Linked DNA regions of Homo sapiens: region 2 is linked to region 1. The links are contacts of gene promoters, found by promoter capture Hi-C in blood cells and fetal thymus (Javierre and others, 2016). All regions are on one chromosome and are shown on one strand. Each heading gives the region's core, a stretch centred on a gene start or on the middle of the fragment in contact. The rest is flanking DNA. Distances are from core to core; before and after follow the strand shown.

The links. Contacts are between HindIII fragments. The CHiCAGO score rates a contact against its expected background, and 5 or more counts as called.
Region 2: a contact is called between a fragment that was not itself captured here and the fragment with the promoter of RAB22A in region 1, in 1 of 17 cell types (activated CD4 T cells). The highest score is 5.7, in activated CD4 T cells.

What each region holds. Positions count from the first base shown.
Region 1 is chr20:58,307,208-58,312,113 of GRCh38, reverse strand. It overlaps RAB22A (RAB22A, member RAS oncogene family), which reads right to left and starts at 2,399. Exons shown (of 7, transcript NM_020673.3): 1 at 2,102-2,399; 2 at 992-1,071. The coding sequence starts at 2,137. It also overlaps the pseudogene PPP4R1L. RefSeq lists silencers at 2,001-2,330, 2,371-2,930. The HindIII fragment of the contact is 7,008 bases long and covers 1,567-4,906 here.
Region 2 is chr20:58,855,475-58,860,380 of GRCh38, reverse strand. It overlaps a transcript of GNAS not described here. Among named protein-coding and RNA genes, the nearest start is that of GNAS, 33 kb to the left of the region's middle. RefSeq lists an enhancer at 4,038-4,906. The HindIII fragment of the contact is 537 bases long and covers 2,787-3,323 here.

The DNA of each region.
Region 1 (4,906 bases), core at 1,150-3,649:
CATGGTGGTGGGCGCCCATAATTCCAGCTACTCAGGAGGCTGAGGCAGGAGAATCGCTTGAACCCGGGAGGCAGAGGTTGCAGTGAGCCAAGATTGCGCCATTGCACCGCAGCCTGGGCAAAAAGAGCGAAACTCTGTCTCAAAAAAATCCATAAATAACCTCTGACAGCAGGAGCTCATAATTTCTCAGGGGACAATCTTATGGCAGTTTCTCTCCTGGGCTGTAAAATATTTCTCTATTAGTCAAAGAATGATCTGCATGGAGCACAAAGGCCAATTTTATCCTAATGATGGATAACATAGATTTTTTCTTTAAATGCTGGAAACCATTTGAGGGTTTGATGATTAAAACTAGAGCACAGCACCTATTTAGTTTTATAAGGTTAACATAATATTAAAGCCTATAAAACACAACTTCTTATGTAGTCAAAGGATTAGTATTGCAAAATGAAAAGTTTTCTTATAGCGTCAAAAACATATGAACAATCAACTTTACTTATCCATAGAACCAGAGAACTGAAAAAACCTTCCATTTCAATATGAATTTATTAATTTATTATTACTACCAGTACAGGAATGTGTAAGGGTTCAGATCTCAACCTACTACTTTCAGGAAGGACAAAAACCATTTAAATGTCTTTTACTTGATATGCCTGAAAGAATAGCACCAGGATCTATTTTCATCTGCCTTATTTCAAGGTGTAATTGCTGTTGATATTTATAGACCGAAGCTTCTGTGTCTGTTCTAATAATTAGTAGAACTCCAATTCATATTTGCATTTTGAAGTTCTCACCCCCAACAAGTCCGAAGATAATTTTCCTAAAATACACAGATCCTCACTGGACTCTTTCAAGTCCTTCCAGAGATGATGCGAACCAGCGACTCAGAATTCAATGACTACAAAGCGCAGGGCCTACACCTGTAACACACTATGTATTTGGAAGGATTTTCAATGCACCTTTAGATGTGTATCAAATAAAAGTCTCTTACCCTATTGTTGGGTTGATGTTTGGATCAAAACTGTCTTCCACAAACCGCCACACAATACTCGATTTACCTACACCTGTATCCTGAAAGAGAACGAGATGAGGGACTGAGAAAAAGTTTACCTTTTGGCAGACACCAAAAACTACTTTGTGGCATAAGTTCAGGATTTTAGAAAAATCACCCTAGACGTGTAAATTTTATAAACGGAGGAACACAAAAGCGGTTGTCATAAAAATTCAGTAGAGTAATTAGGAAATTCCAACTGTACTAAAAGGGAGAGGTTTTTGCCGTTAAGACAGATTAGGACCTTTTGAGAGACCCAAAGTTTCTGCTTCGTGTAAAAAGTAACAAGTCCACTTGCTTTTTAACATATGTTAGTAAACTTTGAACTCCTGAGTTACCTCTGAGTAATCCCTGATGAATCCTAGCCCCACCCTATTTGGGGGAATAAAGATTAGTTATTGGAGTTCCTGCCGATCTTTAAGGCAGAAACTCTGGAATGACAGCATCAATTTCAGAAAGAAGGCTTTGAAATGGCCAACACCTTGTCTTTCCTGACAAGACAGGAAGCTGAAGCTTCAAACTAGTCTTTGGGGCTTCCTGATTTGAACACCCCTTTTCTCCACAGGAAGAGTTACTTGGCAAAGTAACTCTTTGGACAAGTGGCAGGGGTATCCCACAAGTTCAAAAACACCCAAGAGACAAAGTAGGCTAATGCTGCTTGTAAAACCTAAAGACCTGTTATTGGTTTTACTTTGGAAGACTTGGCCAACTCCCAACTAATACCTTGGTAAGTTGGGAGAAAACTATTTAAGAACCTCTCTTAACCCAGATGCAATAGAGAGGCAAGGGGGGGCTGTTTGCTCTTTGTGGGGCGGGAAGAGTCCACGGGCTCCAGGGAGGGGAAGGGGAAGGGTCCCTTCGGCCTCCAGGACCTTTTCGAGAGTGCAAGAGGTGGGCGGGACGGCTCCCGAGCTGGAGGGAGGGTCCACGGGGCTGGCAGACAGCGTCTTGGACGTGGGAGGGGGGAAGGGATGAGGGGACAGGGGGGATCCGGGGTCCCCGCCAGCCCAGCCTCCCGTGGCCCTCCCGGCCGGACCCGCCGCCACTCACCCCGAGCAGACACACTTTGAGCTCCCTCAGCGCCATGGCCCGGGAGCCAGGGGCGCGGGCCCGCCGCCGCCCTAAGTTGAGAAGGGAGAGGCCAGGCCCAGCAAGAGCATCCCCTGGCGCCGCTGCCGCCGCACGGCCCAGCCCCGGTCCGCGCAGAGGCGGCTGCCGCCCGTCCTCCGGCCGTAGGTCCGGCCTGTCCGCTGCCAGCCGCGTGGGGCCCGCCTTAGCAGCCGGGACGCCGCCGCGGCCTTCCGGGAGCCGCCGCCGCCGCCATCTTGGGACGCCGGCCGCGTCACCTGACCTCCCCGCCCACCTCGGCAGCCACCTTCGCTGAGAGGGCGGGGCCGGCCGGCCGGCGCGGATCGGGGGCGGGGCCCGAAGCCGACGGCCCCGCCCCTGTCTGCAGGGCCCCGCCCCTGTCTGCAGGGCCCCGCCCCTGTCTGCAGGGCCCCGCCCCTGTCTGCAGGGCCCCGCCCCTGTCTGCAGGGCCCCGCCCCTGTCTGCAGGGCCCCGCCCCTGTCTGCAGGGCCCCGCCCCTGTCTGCAGGGCCCCGCCCCTGCCGGTCCCGCCTCCATGCCCATCCCAAGATGGCGGGTGAGTGGGGCTGGGCTCGGGGGATGCCAGGGGTGCCCCTCTCTCTCTCGCCCCGTGACCACCCCGCGAGGCCGAGGGGCCCCTGCCCGACCCCGTCCCCTCTCGCCGCAGCCCCCTGGTAACTTCTTGTGTGTTTCTTGGTTTTCAGAGATCCCCCTGTACTTTGTGGACTTGCAGGATGACTTAGACGACTGTAAGTAAGAGTTGGGGCACCCCTGTCCCTCCCTGGGACCCTCTCAAAGAATTCAGAGTGCACGAAGCGCGGGGCGGGGGAACCTCAAGCCAGGCACTCCTTGTCGGGACCAGAACAGCGGGACCCCCAACTGCCTAGATCCACTGGTGGCGGTCCCTCCTCCCTGGGCGGGGCGGGCTGAGGGTGGGAGCCCTTCCCTTCCCTCGGGGGAAGGATTTTTGTTGTTGGGGAAACTTTGGACTCCCTGTCACTTCTTTTCTTCCTGCGCCTGCAGCTGCCGTGGGATGGGCGGAGGGGGTAGTCCCAAGTCCTAGTCGACCCTGGGCGGGCGGGGGGTCCGCCACCTGGGAGGTGGGTGACTTCCCTCTCAGGGCCTTGCCCTTTTCCTAGGGACTTTTTAGGACTGCTGGGGGGTTTGGGAGGTCCCCCTCTCGGTGTGGCCGGTCACGGAGTTGCACGGACTTCTCAAGTGTCCTGGCCACAAGCCCGGCTCCATCTCTTATCCCATGGAGCCCATTGGCCCCCGCATTTCTTGGGTGGGACCCTTGTCCCTTCTTGCCCTCTTTTTTGGAATCATGTTAAGGGCTGGTAGCTGGGGGAGGTGTCATCTTAGAAATCCAAGTTCGCATTTCTGGTGAAGGAAGGAAGCGTTTTCTCTCCTGTCAAGAAACTTACTGAGCAGCTATTTGCTCTGGGGGCCACGTGTTGGGCTCCGAACCTGCAAGGATGTGTTGAAAACAGCTCTACACGCAGGGAGCTCACAGGGTGTGGGGAGAGCCTACTTGTAAACAGAAAATTACCGAGCACCGGAGTGCTTGCTGGTGAAGAAGCCCTATATAAATCATCCAAATAGCTAACATTAATTGGGGGCGTACTGTACGCCAGTCATATACAGTACTTCCTCTCATCTTTCATTCCACATCTTCAGGTTTCCTAATAGTAAGAGTTGGTGTTTACTGAAAACTTACCATGGACCAGACAGCGTTAAACTCTTTTTTTTTTTTTTTTTTTTTTGAGACGTAGTCTTGCTCTGTAGCCCAGGCTGGAGTACAGTGGCACGATCTCGGCTCACTGCAAGCTCCACCTCCTGGGTTCACGCCATTTTCCTGCCTCAGCCTCCCAAGTAGCTGGGACTATAGGCGCCCGCCACCACTCCCGGCTAATTTTTTGTATTTTTAGTAGAGAAGGGGTTTCACTCTGTTAGCCAGGATGGTCTCGATCTCCTGACCTCGTGATCCGCCCACCTCGGCCTCCCAAAGTGTTGGGATTACTGGCGTGAGCCACCACGCCCGGCCCAGTCTTAAACTCTTTACACACATTAACTCAGAAGGCGCAGTTTCGGCTGGGTGCGGTGGCTCAGGCCTGTAATCCCCGCACTTTGGGAGGCAGAGACGGGCAGATCACTTGAGTCCAGCCTGGCCAACATGGTGAAACCCTGTCTCTACTAAAAATACAAAAATTAGCCGGGCTTGGTGGCGCGCGTCTCTAATCTTAGCTGCCCGGGAGGCTGAGGCAGGAGAATTGCTTGAACCTGGGAGGCAGAGGTTGCAGTGAACGCCACTGCACTCCAGCCTGGGCGACAGAGTGACTCCGTCTCAAAAAAACAAAACAAAACAAAACAAACCAACAAGGGGCAGTTTTGTTAAAGTAGCATAACACTTTTGAAGGGGTAAAGCAAGCTGATAGTTAAGAGCCCGGTGTCTGTGGAATCAGATGGCCAAGAGTGAAATCCCGTATCACTGTTTACTGTCAGTGTGATCCCAGGCAAGTCGCTGTACCACTCTATGCCTCAGCGACCTCATCAGTAAAATGGGCATTATAGTGGCCCACCTCAAAAGGCTTTTATAAGGGATTAAATGAATAAAGGATTTAGCACAATGCCTAGTATGTAATAAACAGTTGGTAAATAATGGCTGCTGTTACCGTTATTCATGTGATCATTATTAGTAGTTATTTAACACTGTTGAGCCTGGTACAGTATAGATCCAGGTTTACCCAGCTGAATGTTTCAGCCGATG
Region 2 (4,906 bases), core at 1,806-4,305, 550 kb before region 1:
TTAGACCCTGCAAAAAAACAAAACAAAACAAAACAAAAAAACCAAAAAACTTTTAAAAAAACCTGCATTTAAAAAAAAAAAAAGGAAAACAGTAGCCCAACAAACTAAGACTGCAACGTTGCAGTGCTGGCAGATGAGTTAAAGCAAATGTGTAAATGAAATATTACCAAAGCAATGACAGCCATCTCAGAAATGGGGGAGCTCATGTTTCATGTATACTCAATGGACATTTATAACCAGGGATCTGTGCGTTTTGCTATAATTCAGAAAGTAGCAGACTACTCGACACGTGTCATTTGGCAAGGGATTTTAAGAGCACATAGTATACTTAGAATAATCATGCTTTACATTTAAATAATGCTTTATAGCTTATCATCACATTTCTGGTAAGCATTATCTGAATTTGAAATTTGTGATCCTTTACCTACCTTGCAGTCTTTGAGTAAAAGTGCCTTATGGCCGGGCGCGATGGCTCATGCCTGTAATCCCAGAACTTTGGGAGGCTGAGGCGGGCGGATCACGAGGTCAGGAGTTTGAGACCAGCCTGACCAACATGGTGAAACCCCATCTCTACTAACAATACAAAAATTAGCCGGGCATGGTGCATGCACCTGTAATCCTAGCTACTCAGGAGGCTGAGGCAGGAGAATCGCTTGAACCCAGGAGGCAGAGGTTGTAGTGAGCCAAAATCACACCATCGCACTCCAGCCTGGGCGATAGAGCGAGACTCCTTCTCAAAAAAAAAAAAAAAAGTGTCTGATATTTAATCTCTGAGCTTTTGGTTTATTTGCCTATGAAATGGGGCCCTATCACGTTTTTATTGCCCAGGACTGTTTCAAGAGACAAATATGACTAGATGAAAGGCTTTAAAAAATGTAAAATGTGGCCAGGCACAGTGGCTCATGCCTGTAATCCCAGTACTTTGGGAGGCTGGGTAGATCACTTGAGGTCAGGAGTTCGAGACCAGCTTGAACAACATGGTGAAACCCCATCTCTACTAAAAATACAAACAATTAGCCAGGCATGGTGGCACACGCTTGTAATCCCAGCTACTCTGGAGACTGAGGCAGGTGAATTGCTTGAATCTGGGAGGCAGAGGTTGCAGTGAGCAGAAATCCTGCCATTGCACTCCAGCCTGGGTGACAGAGGGAGACTTTGTTTCAAATCAAACAAACAAAAAATGTAATCAGAATGTGTTATTATTATTACTGGTTACTAATCATACTGAGAGCAGTGAGATTTTCCTTTTCAAGTTAGGAGGATACATACAGTAAGGGGATGACCCCCAATTCTTTTTGCTTAAAACCAGTTTTCCATTGTAAATAATGGGGGTAAATTTTAAACATTAATCTACCTATATGGGAAAATTTTTTTTGAGAGAAATCTGTAAGAATTAAAACCAAGGTAGAATTTCAGACTTTGAGAAGCATGAATCTTACTAGGAGACTGAAAAGAGAAAATAATAAATCTATCTGGACTCCAAAATTTTGTGGCCTGATAAGCCATGTCCTTCCTACCACACCAAAAGCTCAGTGGAGGCATTTAGAATATAAAAAAATGGCTGTATGTTAAAAAAGAGAGAGAGAGAGAGAGAAAAGAAAAATAAAAAGGTGCTTCTGCAAGATGGAATACAATGCATACTGTTGCACTTGGTGGCATAAATAATCATACAATTAATTGTGATTCACTGTATAAATAAAGCATCATAGCAGAATAGCCATTATTATATATAGCATTTGCCTACACAATTTTAATAAATGTGGCAGATACTAAGAAACTCTGATCTATTAGCCCCATTCAGTTCTTAAGGAGGAAATCACACCTAAATGAAGTTTTAAAAAATGTTTAAGCCACCAAAATTATTTAAAAACGTAACAGAAACATGGAAACAGTCTATTGGTGGATAGTGTTGAGTAAGAAAAAGGCTTCTTTAAAAAGAACTCTTTAGATATTTTAGAATTTTAATCATATTACTGATTTCTATCTATCTTTCTCTCTCTCTCTCTCTCTTTGATTTCTTAGGATTCCCTGTAATGAGATTAAATTGTCCCGGCAATAAAAACAGAAAGGATAAGCACATGAACATACATTTTTTCAAGCAACAGATGAATCTGCATGTCACAAATTAGCAACCATATCAAAGGACAGCCATTTGATCTGCATTTTCAGTGGTAGGGATGTATGGATGTCTTGTTTTATATGTTGGGACTAAAAAGTTAGTAAAAAGTCTTGTCCTACATGTGAGTAAGTCCTCATCCTTCCTCCTCTCCCTGTCCCCCATCAATAATTCAGGTCCAGAAGAGGTACGTCACCTCTGCAAAAGGAAGCCTGGTCAAAAACTGTAGCCTGCTTTGACAAACTGCAGTGGTACAGTTTCAGCTAGCAGCTAACACTGGCTATCATATTTCAGGCTTATGTTAGACATGGCCCATGGTTTGCCAGCCCACCTTCTGGACTATGCTGCATCCAAAGGTGTTTGGCTACCAGCACCCGAGAACAAAGCCAGGACAAGGTACAAGGTGACCCCAGCAAATTTCCTTTTCTTAAAGTTAATTTTTACTCCTGGTGACAAAATAAGGGGAGACAAAGGAAACTTCTAATATTCTTAAGACTGGTCCCAAACATGGACAGTTTGCTGCAGGATTGATGGCTGCACAATCTATGGTATAAGTCTCCAGTCCTGATGTAAGTAGACTGTGTCTCCTCCACCCCCCACCTCCAGGAAGAATAGAAGACTCAAATCATGGTGCAAAAGCATTCCTTAGTGGAGATCTGCTAGGAAAGCTTCATTTCACAAAGGAGGCAACTGAGGCCCCGCATGTAAGGCACATCACCAATTTGACAATTAGGGGTCAGGTGCACACTGTCACTTGGGTCTCCTGTCTGTATGCATTTATGTCCTCCCACCCCCAATCTACAGGTTTGCTTCCCAGAGCTGTGCTTGGAATATTGAAATGGGTCTGTTATGGCAAAATCAGTTGTCTGCAGGGAAACCAGTGCATTGTCATTTAATGTTTGGTAGCTTTAGTGTAGTTGAGACATTTGAAATTTAAAACAACGACCATATTATATGTCTTTAGGTAAATGACAATGTCATGATCTACCTGGATGGGCATACACAAAATGATCCTCACATTTAAAATTGTGATTTGTGAGAGCCACATCACAATAGCACAGTTATATGCCAATAATGCCATTAATAAAAAACCATCACACATTCTAACATATTTAACAAATGTAGCGCAGCCTTAAAAACTGTGATCTTGAAATCCCTTGGAAGGTCTTAGAGAAAGTCTTAGAGAATAAAATGTAAAAATTAAGCTTGTGAAGTTTGTTTGGAAGTTTTCATTTAAACCACATATTCAGACCATTGCTAATTGATGCTTTGTTTAAATGTGGCAAAAATATTTAATGCCCCAGATTTGAAGTTAAGAAGTCTTGGGGGGCTGGGGGGAGGGTGGGGAACTGGGAATGGCCAGGGAAAGACTGGGAGATACAGGAGAGGGTCTTGCTGTGGGGTGAGGAGGGGGATCCTGGAGAGGGGAGGGCACCGAGAGGTGGGGAAATGTGAGCAGAGGAGGAGGGGGAAGGTAGAAGGCCACCAAAATACCCTCCTGACAAGAATATCATGATTTTTAACTTCTGTAATCAAAATACCTTTATATATTTTTTGTATCCAGAGCCAATTTGCAGAAGACCTTACCTTTGACAAGCCTCTTTGCCCCCAGCTAAAGCTGCCTGAAAAAATTCACATGCAAACATTTACTTGTTTTCACAAGTCATATTCACGGTTTTGCCATACTTTGTCCACACACTTCAAATACACTCAGAGCATTTTTTGAAAACTTTTATTTTAGTTGCATTTCAAACACAAAGGTGACATTCCACTCACAACACATAACCCCCATCTTTTTAAACCAAGCCCCTCCTACTGTACTCTTTGTAAAAATGATTGGCTTACCTCGGGCTCTTCGCTAGGAAGAAAAATTATTTCATATTTTTTAAACACAGCCACGCCCACCCCCTTGGAACCAGCCCCCAAGTGGTTTGGGATCCGGACTTGCCTACAGCAGGTTGTGTTTCCCCTTTCCCCCATCCCCCGACCAGGCGAGCTGTGTGTGTGCAGAATACCGAACTGAGGTGTGCAGCCCCGGGCGCCCCAGATACCTGTGTGTCTGGTTTTTCAACTGTAAAGGCGGGAGGGTTTGGCGAACGAATGAGAAGTGAGGAAACGCTTAGCGCAAAAGGAAAAAGAGAGAAAGACATACAGAAACAAGGTTACGCGGAGGCCGGCGAAAAGCGATTCCCCGCTCCCCCAGGCCAAGGGCCCCGCTTATTTCCCGGGAGGCCCCGCCACCTTCCCCGCGTGTCCTCCGCACCGCTTGCCGCAGAGCGCCCGGGCGCAGGTACCACCAGAGTGTGCGAACAGCGAAAGTTTTTTGCCCGGGCCATGGCGCAAACCACAACACAGCCCGTTCCCAAGTACAAGTACACAGTCGGCGGGTAATTTGGGGGTGCCGGGATAGGAACAGGGGACACTTCAGCGTATCATGCACAGGCGAACACAGAATATGGACACCAACACACACCAACGACAAGCTGTCTGAGTCCAAGCAGCCGTGCCAGGCGAGGCGGGGCGCGCCTTCCCCAATGACCCCAGCCCACCGTGGACCCCACCAGCCTAGCCAGGGGAGTCCCGGGGCCCCGGGGCCCCTCCCCGGCAGTTCCTGGCTCACCTGAAGCCCCTGCCTGTCCAGCTTACGGTTGCTGGCGCTGGCCTGTCCAGCCGGAAACGACCCTCAGTGTCGCTCGGCACCACTTTTCTCCCTGGAGGGCATATACTTCGGCCACCCGAATCCACCAAAGATCCCCTCCCGCTCCCAGGGCAGTTAGGGTCCCTCCCTGG